Linked DNA regions of Homo sapiens: all the other regions are linked to region 3. The links are contacts of gene promoters, found by promoter capture Hi-C in human tissues and cell types (Jung and others, 2019). All regions are on one chromosome and are shown on one strand. Each heading gives the region's core, a stretch centred on a gene start or on the middle of the fragment in contact. The rest is flanking DNA. Distances are from core to core; before and after follow the strand shown.

What was found. The method cuts DNA at HindIII sites, captures the fragments that hold promoters and counts their contacts. A contact is called where the count stands out against the background at its distance.
Region 1: a fragment that was not itself captured here is called in contact with the fragment with the promoter of PTGR1 in region 3 in 1 of the 25 tissues and cell types used here (lymphoblastoid cells).
Region 2: a fragment that was not itself captured here is called in contact with the fragment with the promoter of PTGR1 in region 3 in 1 of the 25 tissues and cell types used here (lymphoblastoid cells).

Annotation. Positions count from the first base shown.
Region 1 is chr9:112,409,420-112,412,353 of GRCh38, reverse strand. All of the region lies in intron 4 of HSDL2 (hydroxysteroid dehydrogenase like 2), which reads right to left. Among named protein-coding and RNA genes, the nearest start is that of HSDL2, 31 kb to the right of the region's middle. The HindIII fragment of the contact is 3,136 bases long and covers 1-2,934 here.
Region 2 is chr9:110,645,775-110,648,566 of GRCh38, reverse strand. No RefSeq gene overlaps it. Among named protein-coding and RNA genes, the nearest start is that of MUSK, 22 kb to the left of the region's middle. The HindIII fragment of the contact is 4,893 bases long and covers 1-2,792 here.
Region 3 is chr9:111,598,352-111,601,286 of GRCh38, reverse strand. PTGR1 (prostaglandin reductase 1) reads left to right here and starts at 1,640. Exons shown (of 10, transcript NM_001146108.2): 1 at 1,640-1,684. RefSeq lists an enhancer at 1,217-1,789. The HindIII fragment of the contact is 5,410 bases long and covers 1-2,935 here.

The sequences.
Region 1 (2,934 bases), core at 204-2,703, 810 kb before region 3:
CTTAAACTTGCCAAGATATTTGTCAATACCTTGGAAGTCATTTCATGTCATGAAAACCCAGTCTAAAACCTTTTTAATCACGTCAAAATTCTCCTGACGCCATATACCTAGGTGTGTGGTACAAGTTTAGCTTGGGACCAGAATTGTTTCAGGTTTCATTCTGAAATATCTGCATTATACTTAACCAGTTCAACATCACTACTCCAAAAATTTGAAATCCTTAATGTTCCAAAGAGCATTTCTTTTGAGCGTCGAGTCAGCACTCAAAAAGTTTCAGATCTCAGAGCATTCTGGATTTGGGATTTTCAGACCAGGGATACTCAACCTGTATATGTATATCTGTGGCTTCATCATCTATAATAGAAACTGCCAGAAATCATTAAACTTATTCACACAACACGCCCTTAACTAAGCCTTAGTTCAACATGTTGAGCAATAATATTCCTGGCTAGGTTTATATTTTTAAGCATTTGTTTAAACAAATACTTAACATTCAATTGAAATTCTTTCACAAAGTTGCCAGCTGTAAAATATTTTTATTCCCATATAATTTTTTCTAGTACCATGACAGTATCACATAGCAACATTGCCTATTTTATTTGAAAATAAACACAAACTCTTTCTAGTTCAAGTTTTTCATCACAATCTATATGCTTGCCATAATAGTTTTTTTCTTTTTGAGACAGAGTCTCACTCTGCTGCCCAAGCTGGAGTGCAGTGGTGTGATCTTGGCTTACTGCAGCCTCCGCCTCCTGGGTTCAAGCGATTCTCCTGCCTCAGCCTCCGGAATAGTCCAGTAACAGGTGCACACCACCACGCCTGGCTAATTTTTTGTATTTTTAGTAGAGACAGGGTTTCACCATGTTGGCCTGGCTAGTCTTAAACTCCTGACCTCAGGTGATCTGCCTGCATTGGCCTCCCAAAGTGCTGGGATTACAAGCATGAGCCACTGTGCCCAGCCATTTGCCATAATTCTTACTACAGTTGGATTCAATATGGTTTCATTCAATAGAGACCTACCTTACATATCGAATTTATAGAAATATGCCTTACATCTACAAACAAGTAAGCTTTCACCCATTTTGCTTGAACATACGGCCCTCTTGGCATAAGTCTCATTTTCCCAATTCAGAGAGAGATGTGGTTATGAGAAATATTTCACTTTCCTCTTTCATATAAGAAAAACAACAGTGTAAATGCAATGATATAACTTGTTAGTCTGTCCTCAGCATCCAGAAGACAACAGAGCTCTGGCCCCATCTGATGAGGCAGTTGATAACCCTGCCACTCAGCTACAGCAACTATTGCCATGTGGTAATGCTTCTCTATTTGGCCAGATCTTCTAAGATTTCAAGAAAAGCTAGAAATCTGGACTTTTGTATAAATCTTCTAATTTTTTCAACATAAGCAACCAATAAAGTTTTTGAGACAGGGTCTCGCTCTGTCACCCAGGCTGGAGTGCAGTAGGGTGATCTCAGCTCACAGCAACGTCCACCTCCCAGATTCAGACAATCCCCCCACTTCAGCTTCCTAAGTAGCTGGGACTACAGGCACGTGTGCCACCATCCCCAGCTAATTTTTCTATTTTTTGTAGAGACAGGGTTTTGCCATGTTGTCTAGGCTGGTTTCGAACTCCTGGGCTCAAGTGACCCGCCTGGCTCAGCCTCCCAAAGTGCTGGGATTACAAGCATGAGCCGCCATGCCTGGCCCTAACTAATAAAACTTTGAATGTAGGTAACTAATGAAAACAATTTTGTTTTAACACTGTCTGGGCCAAGTTTTGCAGACCCAACAAAACATACCTGAGGGAAAAATTCAGGACTCTAACTTAATAACTTAGACATTTAACCCTCGTGACCAACCCTATAACATATTACTGTATTATTGCCATTTTAAAAGTAAAGAAACTGAATCTGCAAGAAGTTAAGTTACTTGTCCAAGGTCACAAAATAGAAAGTCATGAGGGGTGAGTGTTAAGATTTGAATCCAAGCAGTCTTACTCCAGAGCCTAAGCTCCTAACCACCTATTCTGTGTGTTAACAAGATACATGTAAGGTACAGAAGCAAGTTCTAACCTGATGTATCCTGATATCCACATGGAAAATATAGAACCAGAGGGTAAATAAACAGATAAATAAATGGACAATAAGACAGGTTGTCTGATGAATCCAGAACAGATCAAGACTATGTTCTTTCATTCGATAGTCTACATTTCCCCGGCAAAGCCCAAGAAAGTATTAGTGTTTTTATTGGTTACAATAAAGTGTGATTCATAATGAGAATGACCTTACTGTTATTTAAATAACTAAAACCTACGTCTTTTTTTTTTTTTAACGCCAGGTCTTTTTCAGAGGAAGGAGACTATTGCTGGCTTCAGTAATCCTAAATAGTCCTATGAAAGGACTGTGTCCTATGAAAGACAGAGTATACATGTAAGTATTTACACATGCAAATATTTGAGAAAATGCTTGAGCTACACTTTAGTCTTTTTTTTTTTTCTTTGGAGACAGTCTTTCTCTGTTACCCAGGCTGGAGTGCAGTGGCATGATCACAGCTCATTGTAGCCTCAAACTCCTGGGCTCAAGGGATCCTCTTGCCTCAGTCTCCTGAGTAGATGAGACCACCACCACAGTCTCAGTAGCACACAAACCACTATGCCTGCCTGATTTTAAAAACTTTTTTTTGTAGAGACAGCGTCTTGCCATCTTGTGCATCTCAGTCTCAATCTCCTGGCCTCCAATAATACTCCCCTCACCCAAAGTGCTGAAATTACAGGTGTGAGCCACTGCACTCAGCCTACTTTAGTCTTTCCTAAATTCATAGAGAAAAGGAGCTCCAAATAAAGCTATTTAAAATACTATCGGGCTGGGCATGGTGGCTCATGCCTGTAATCCCAGCACTTTGGGAGGCCAAGGTGGGTGGATCACCTGAGGT
Region 2 (2,792 bases), core at 23-2,522, 950 kb after region 3:
ACACATACAGAAATGTTTTGTTTTTGTTTTTTGAGTCAGTGCCTCCCTCTCTTGCCCAGGCTGGTGCAGTGGCACAATCATAGCTCACTCTAGCCTCGAACTCCTGGGCTCAAGTGATCCTTCTGCCTCAGCCTCCAGAGTAGCTGGGACTACAGGAGCACACCACTATGCCCAGCTAATTTTTTTTTTAAATGTATAGATGTGGGTTTTGCTGTGTTGTCCAGGCTGGTCTTGAACTCCTGGGCTCTAGTGATCCTCCCACCTTGGCCTCCCAAAGTGCTGGGATTACAGGCATGAGCCACAGTGCCTGGCCTGGAATTTTTTTTTTTCCCCAAAAGTTTTGCTTAATGAAAAAGTGCATTTCTACTGTCTCCTGGGCATTTAGAGTTTTCACAGACATAAGCATGTAAAATTTTCTTGTCATAACTGATGAAGATTCAGTGCTGGGATCCCGCCAAAGTGATGTCCTAGTAGTTGGCACTCAGCTTCCCTGTGTTGTTGCCTGTTCTGATTGGCGTCTTGCTCCCCGTAAACAGAGGTCATTGATCACAACTACTCTTCGAACATACTCATTAGTATCAACCACCTTCTGCATTTGTACCTGATGCTCTCTACATTTCTCTTACCTGGTTGAAAACCCTAGTTCCAACCTTTTCCATCACCATGACTTACATGCTAGGCCCTGTGCTATCTCACAGCTGAATCGGGTTAAAAATGTGACCTAATTAATCGTGTGGTACACACAGGCCTAAATCCTATTTTGAATACAAGCCAATTGTATTTCTTTCAAATGGGTGTCATAAAAGCTTTAGCAAGAACTTCTCATAGCTCAAAGAGAGACATGCCTGATTTATGATTTCTTGATAGCACTTAACATTTTATTTGGATTTAGAGATAACTCTAGATACATCAATCAAACAAGCTGTTTTCAAATCCTTCTGCTCAGCTGTTCCCGGTGCCAGATTGTCTAACAAATAGAAGCATAAACAGATGTAATTTGTGACTTGTGGAGACCATTCTCTGTCATGCAATAGGCCAGCTGGTGGCACGAGCCATAGTACAGTCCACAGCCTGACTCACAGGCATCAGGCTTCTCACTCCTCATACACGTGAGCAATGTTTAAAGATCACAGTTACATAAAAGTTTATTCTGGAAAATTCATTTAAATATTTGCTTACAAACTTGATTGTTGAAAGATGGTATTTTATCATAACATGTATCCTCATAATCAGACCTTGCAAAGTAGAACTTTTGTTACCTGATTTAAAAAAATGTAGCTATGGTAATTTGTAAAATAAAACTTTGGCAAAAGAACCAACAGCATGTATGATTGATAGCCCAGAAAAATGACATATACTAATATGTATGCACACACTTACATGCATATATACACATATATCTGTGTGTACATGTATGTATATATATATATGTCTATATATGTCATGTACCATTATGTATGTGTTGTGTGTGCGTGTATATACAACATATACATACATATTTGGTATATGATAAAGTTATCACAATTTTGTGAATAGAAAGGATTATTTGGAAAAGTTGCACCAGGATCTTTTCTTTTTTTTTTTTTCAAAACAGGATACAAGATCTATATACAAAAATCAAGTGATTTAATTTCTATATAATGGCTATTAAAAATCTTTATTATTATACTTTAAGTTTTAGGGTACATGCGCACAACGTGCAGGTTTGTTACATATGTATACATACACCATGTTGGTGTGCTACACCCATTAACTCATCATTTACATTAGGTATATCTCCTAATGCTTTCCCTCCCCCCTCCACCCTCCCCTCACCCCATGACAGGCCCTGGTGTGTGATGTTCCCCTTCCTGTGTCCAAGTGTTCTCATTGTTCAGTTCCCACCTATGAGCGAGAACATGTGGTGTTTGGTTTTTTGTCCTTGCGATAGTTTGCTGAGAATGATGGTTTCCAGCTTCATCTATGTCCCTACCAAGGGCATGAGCTCATCCTTTTTTATGGCTGCATAGTATTCCATGGTGTATATGTGCCACATTTTCTTAATCCAGTCTATCATTGATGGACATTTGGGTTGGTTCCAAGTCTTTGCTATTGGGAAAAGTGCCATAATAAACATATGTGTACATGTGTCTTTATAGCAGCATGATTTATAATCCTTTGGGTATATACCCAGTAATGGGATGGCTGGGTCAAATGGTATTTCTAGTTCTAGATCCTGTCTTCCACAATGGTTGAACTAGTTTACAGTCCCACCAACAGTGTAAAAGTGTTCCTATTTCTCCACATTCTCTCCAGCATCTGTTGTTTCCTGACTTTTTAATGATCGCCATTCTAACTGGTGTGAGATGGTATCTCATTGTGGTTTTGATTTGCATTCTCTGATGGCCAGTGATGATGAGCATTTTTTCATGTGTCTGTTGGCTGCATAAATGTCTTATTTTGAGAAGTGTCTGTTCATATCCTTTGCCCACTTTGTGATGGTGTTGTTTTTTTCTTGTAAATTTGTTTGAGTTCTTTGTAGATTCTGGATATTAGCCCTTTGTCAGATGAGAAGATTGCAAAAATTTTCTCCCATTCTGTAGGTTGTCTGTTTGCTCTGATGGTAGTTTCTTTTGCTGTGCAGAAGCTTTTTAGTTTAATTAGATCCCATTTGTCAATTTTGGCTTTTGTTGCCATTGCTTTTGGTGTTTTAGACATGAAGTCCTTGCCCATGCCTATGTCCTGAATGGTATTGCCTAGGTTTTCTTCTAGGGTTTTTATGGTTTTAGTTCTAACATTTAAGTCTTTAATCC
Region 3 (2,935 bases), core at 391-2,890:
TGTCTCAGACTCCAAAAGTGCTAGGATTACAGGCATGAGCCACAGCACCCAGCCTGGGAATGGAGTTTTGTTTTATATTAAGTTACATAAATTAATGAGAAGGGAGAGAGTGAGAAAGAAAGAATTTGGCAGACCAGTGGGGATAAAGTGCCACCAACTCTGATTAGTGTGAAGAATTCAACTCTCGGCATTGTGTTTTTAGGGTCCATCCAAGTTGCTTTATGTACATGGAACCCAGTGCTTCTGATGCTGTGTATATCCTGTGGCATGCGTCCACCACGCTTGGTCCACACACTCTGTTATGGGCTGAACTGTGTCTTCCCCAATTTCATGTGTTAAAATCCCCAAGTCCCAGTACTCAGAATGTAACTGTATTTGTAGATAGGGCCTTTAAAGAGGTAATTAAGGTTACATGAGGCCATATTAGTGAGCCCTAATCCATTTGACAGTATTTGAAGACAAGGCCTTCAAAGACGTGTTTAAGTTAAACGGAGGCTGACAAGTGGGGCTCTAATCCAATATGGCGGGTATCCTTACAAGGAGAGACATTGAGCCAGGTGTGGTGGTGGGCCTGTAATCCCAGCTTCTAGGGAGGCTGAAGGAGGATCACCTGAGTCCAGGAGTTCAAGGCTGCAATGAGCTATGATGCCCACCATTGCACTCCAGCCTGGGTGACAGAGCAAGACCTCAAAATAATTAAAATTAAATAAATAAATTAAAGACATTGAATCTTCACAATGACTGGAAGTTAGGCATTCTTCTTATCCCCATCTTGCAGATGGCTGAACTGAGTGAGGCAAGGAGAAGGTAAGTAAGTCTTTGAAAGCTACACCACTAGTAAGTGGCAGGTGCAGGCTTCGAACCTGCAGTCGTCTAATACCAACGACTTAGCTTCACGTTCAACCCCTGCCTGAGACCACCTCTCCTTGCAGAAGCCAGGTCAAGGCCTGATGTTTGCTAGGGTGTGATGGGTGGGGTGCCTCAGTGGCAAGAGTGCTCACTCCTGCCTGGGGGAGTCTGGCAAGGGTTCACAGAGGTGACCTTGAATTGGCTGGTGGAAGGCGAGTAGGTGTTCAGCAGGCGGACTGGGGACAGACAGGCAGGGTGTCTGCACCGCAGCCCTGGGCGAAAGCTTGCACTGCGGGCAAGCGGCAGGGCTGACGGGGAGCCCAGGGATCGGAGCCAGCACCGGGGGCTTATTAGGGCTGCGGCCGCCCCAGGCCCTGCCTTTGGACCCTTCCGGCCTGCTTGGCAGATGCCACGGTTGGTTCCCCCACGGGGCATATTTCCGCCGGGCTCCAACTTAGGACCCCAGGCGGAGGTCCAGTGTCAGCTGGACAAAGCTCTGTTAGGAATTTTCCTATCAGGAGTCCCTAACCCCCTACACGCACACACACGGGCGCGCGGGCGCGCACGCACACACACGCACACATGCACACATACGCGCGCGCACATGCACATAGGCACACAGAGATACGCGCACACACACACACAAACGCACTCAGATTTCCCGGACCCTGGTTTTCCTCCTGTGACCCTTTCGGGGCCGGGCTCTCACCCTAAAGAAGCAGCCCCGCCCTGGGGTGGCCCCACCCTCTCTTGGGACCTGTCATAAGTCGGACCCCGGGCGCCCGGCTGCGCAGTCCCAGCCGCCTTCCCCAGGCAGTGGAACCTTCGGGCTCCTGTAAGTAGACCTCCTGCTTTCTTTCCTTCCCTTTTCTCCCTCCTCTAACCCCCTTGCTTTCTTCCTGCCAAGTTTCTAGACGCCCCAGTGGAGGAGGTTTGCTCTTAGACCTCCTCCCCTTACGTCGAAATGACCGCTGGGTCTTGCACTCGGAGGATCTTGGGAGCCGACGTCCCGACGCCTCCCGCCCCCGCAGTTCCTTGGAGAGCTTGGAGCCGCGCGCCGGAGGGAATAGGAAAGCTTGGTTACAACCCGGGACACCCGGTAGCTTCCTGCACCCGGGAGGGGGCTGGCCAGGGAACTTGCTGGACTGCACAACTGGGGGAGGGTAGAAGAAGAAAGATCGGGGTGGGGATTCGGGAATGGGCAAGCGGGCGGCGGGCGGCGGGAGGCGAGGGTGGGAGCAAAGGGCGAGCGGGCAAAGGCCGGGCGCCGCGCCAGGCCCCCTCCTCGGGCGGGCGAGACTTTCCCGGGACCTGGCCCCTCTGCGGCCAGACCCTTTCCAGGAGGGCTTCTGGACTTGTAGCGAGTTTGGAAGCCCAGCGGTTGCTTTTTTGGGGAAAGGGACAAAGATGTGTGAACTCTAAAGAAGTTGAACTCATAGAAATAACGACTAGAATGATGGTTGCCAGAGGCTGGGAGCGGGTTCGGGGGGGAATGGGGGCTTGTTGGCCAAAGGGTACGAAGTTCAGAGACGAGAGGAGTAGGTTCTGAGATCTGTTGCACAGCAGAGTGACTAGAGCCAATAATGTGTATTTCGAAATAACAGAGTAAACTGCAAATGTCTCACCGTAAAAATGATACGTAGGGCCTGGCGCGGTGGCTCACGCCTGTAATCCCAGCACTATGGAAGGTCGAGGCGGGCGAATCATTTGAGCTCAGGAGTTCTAGACCAGTCTGGCCAACATGGGGAAACCCCGTCTCTACTAAAAGTACAAAAATTAGCTGGGCGTGGTGGCGGGCGCCTGTAATCCCAGCTACTCAGGAGGCTGAGACAGGAGAACCGCTTGAACCCGGGAGACGGAGGTTGCAGTGAGCTGAGATCGCGCCATTGCACTTCAGCCTGGGCGACAGAGCGAGACTCCGTCACAAAAAAAGTCTTAATTTTAAAAAAAGAAAAGAAGGAACAACCCCGGGCTGCAGATCAGACCGCCCCCCTGGCTCCCTCGCAATGCGGGAGTGCTCCCTCCAGGTCACCGTGTCCCCTCCCGCGGCACCGGTAGGGGAGCTGGGGAGATCACTGGCAGCTCC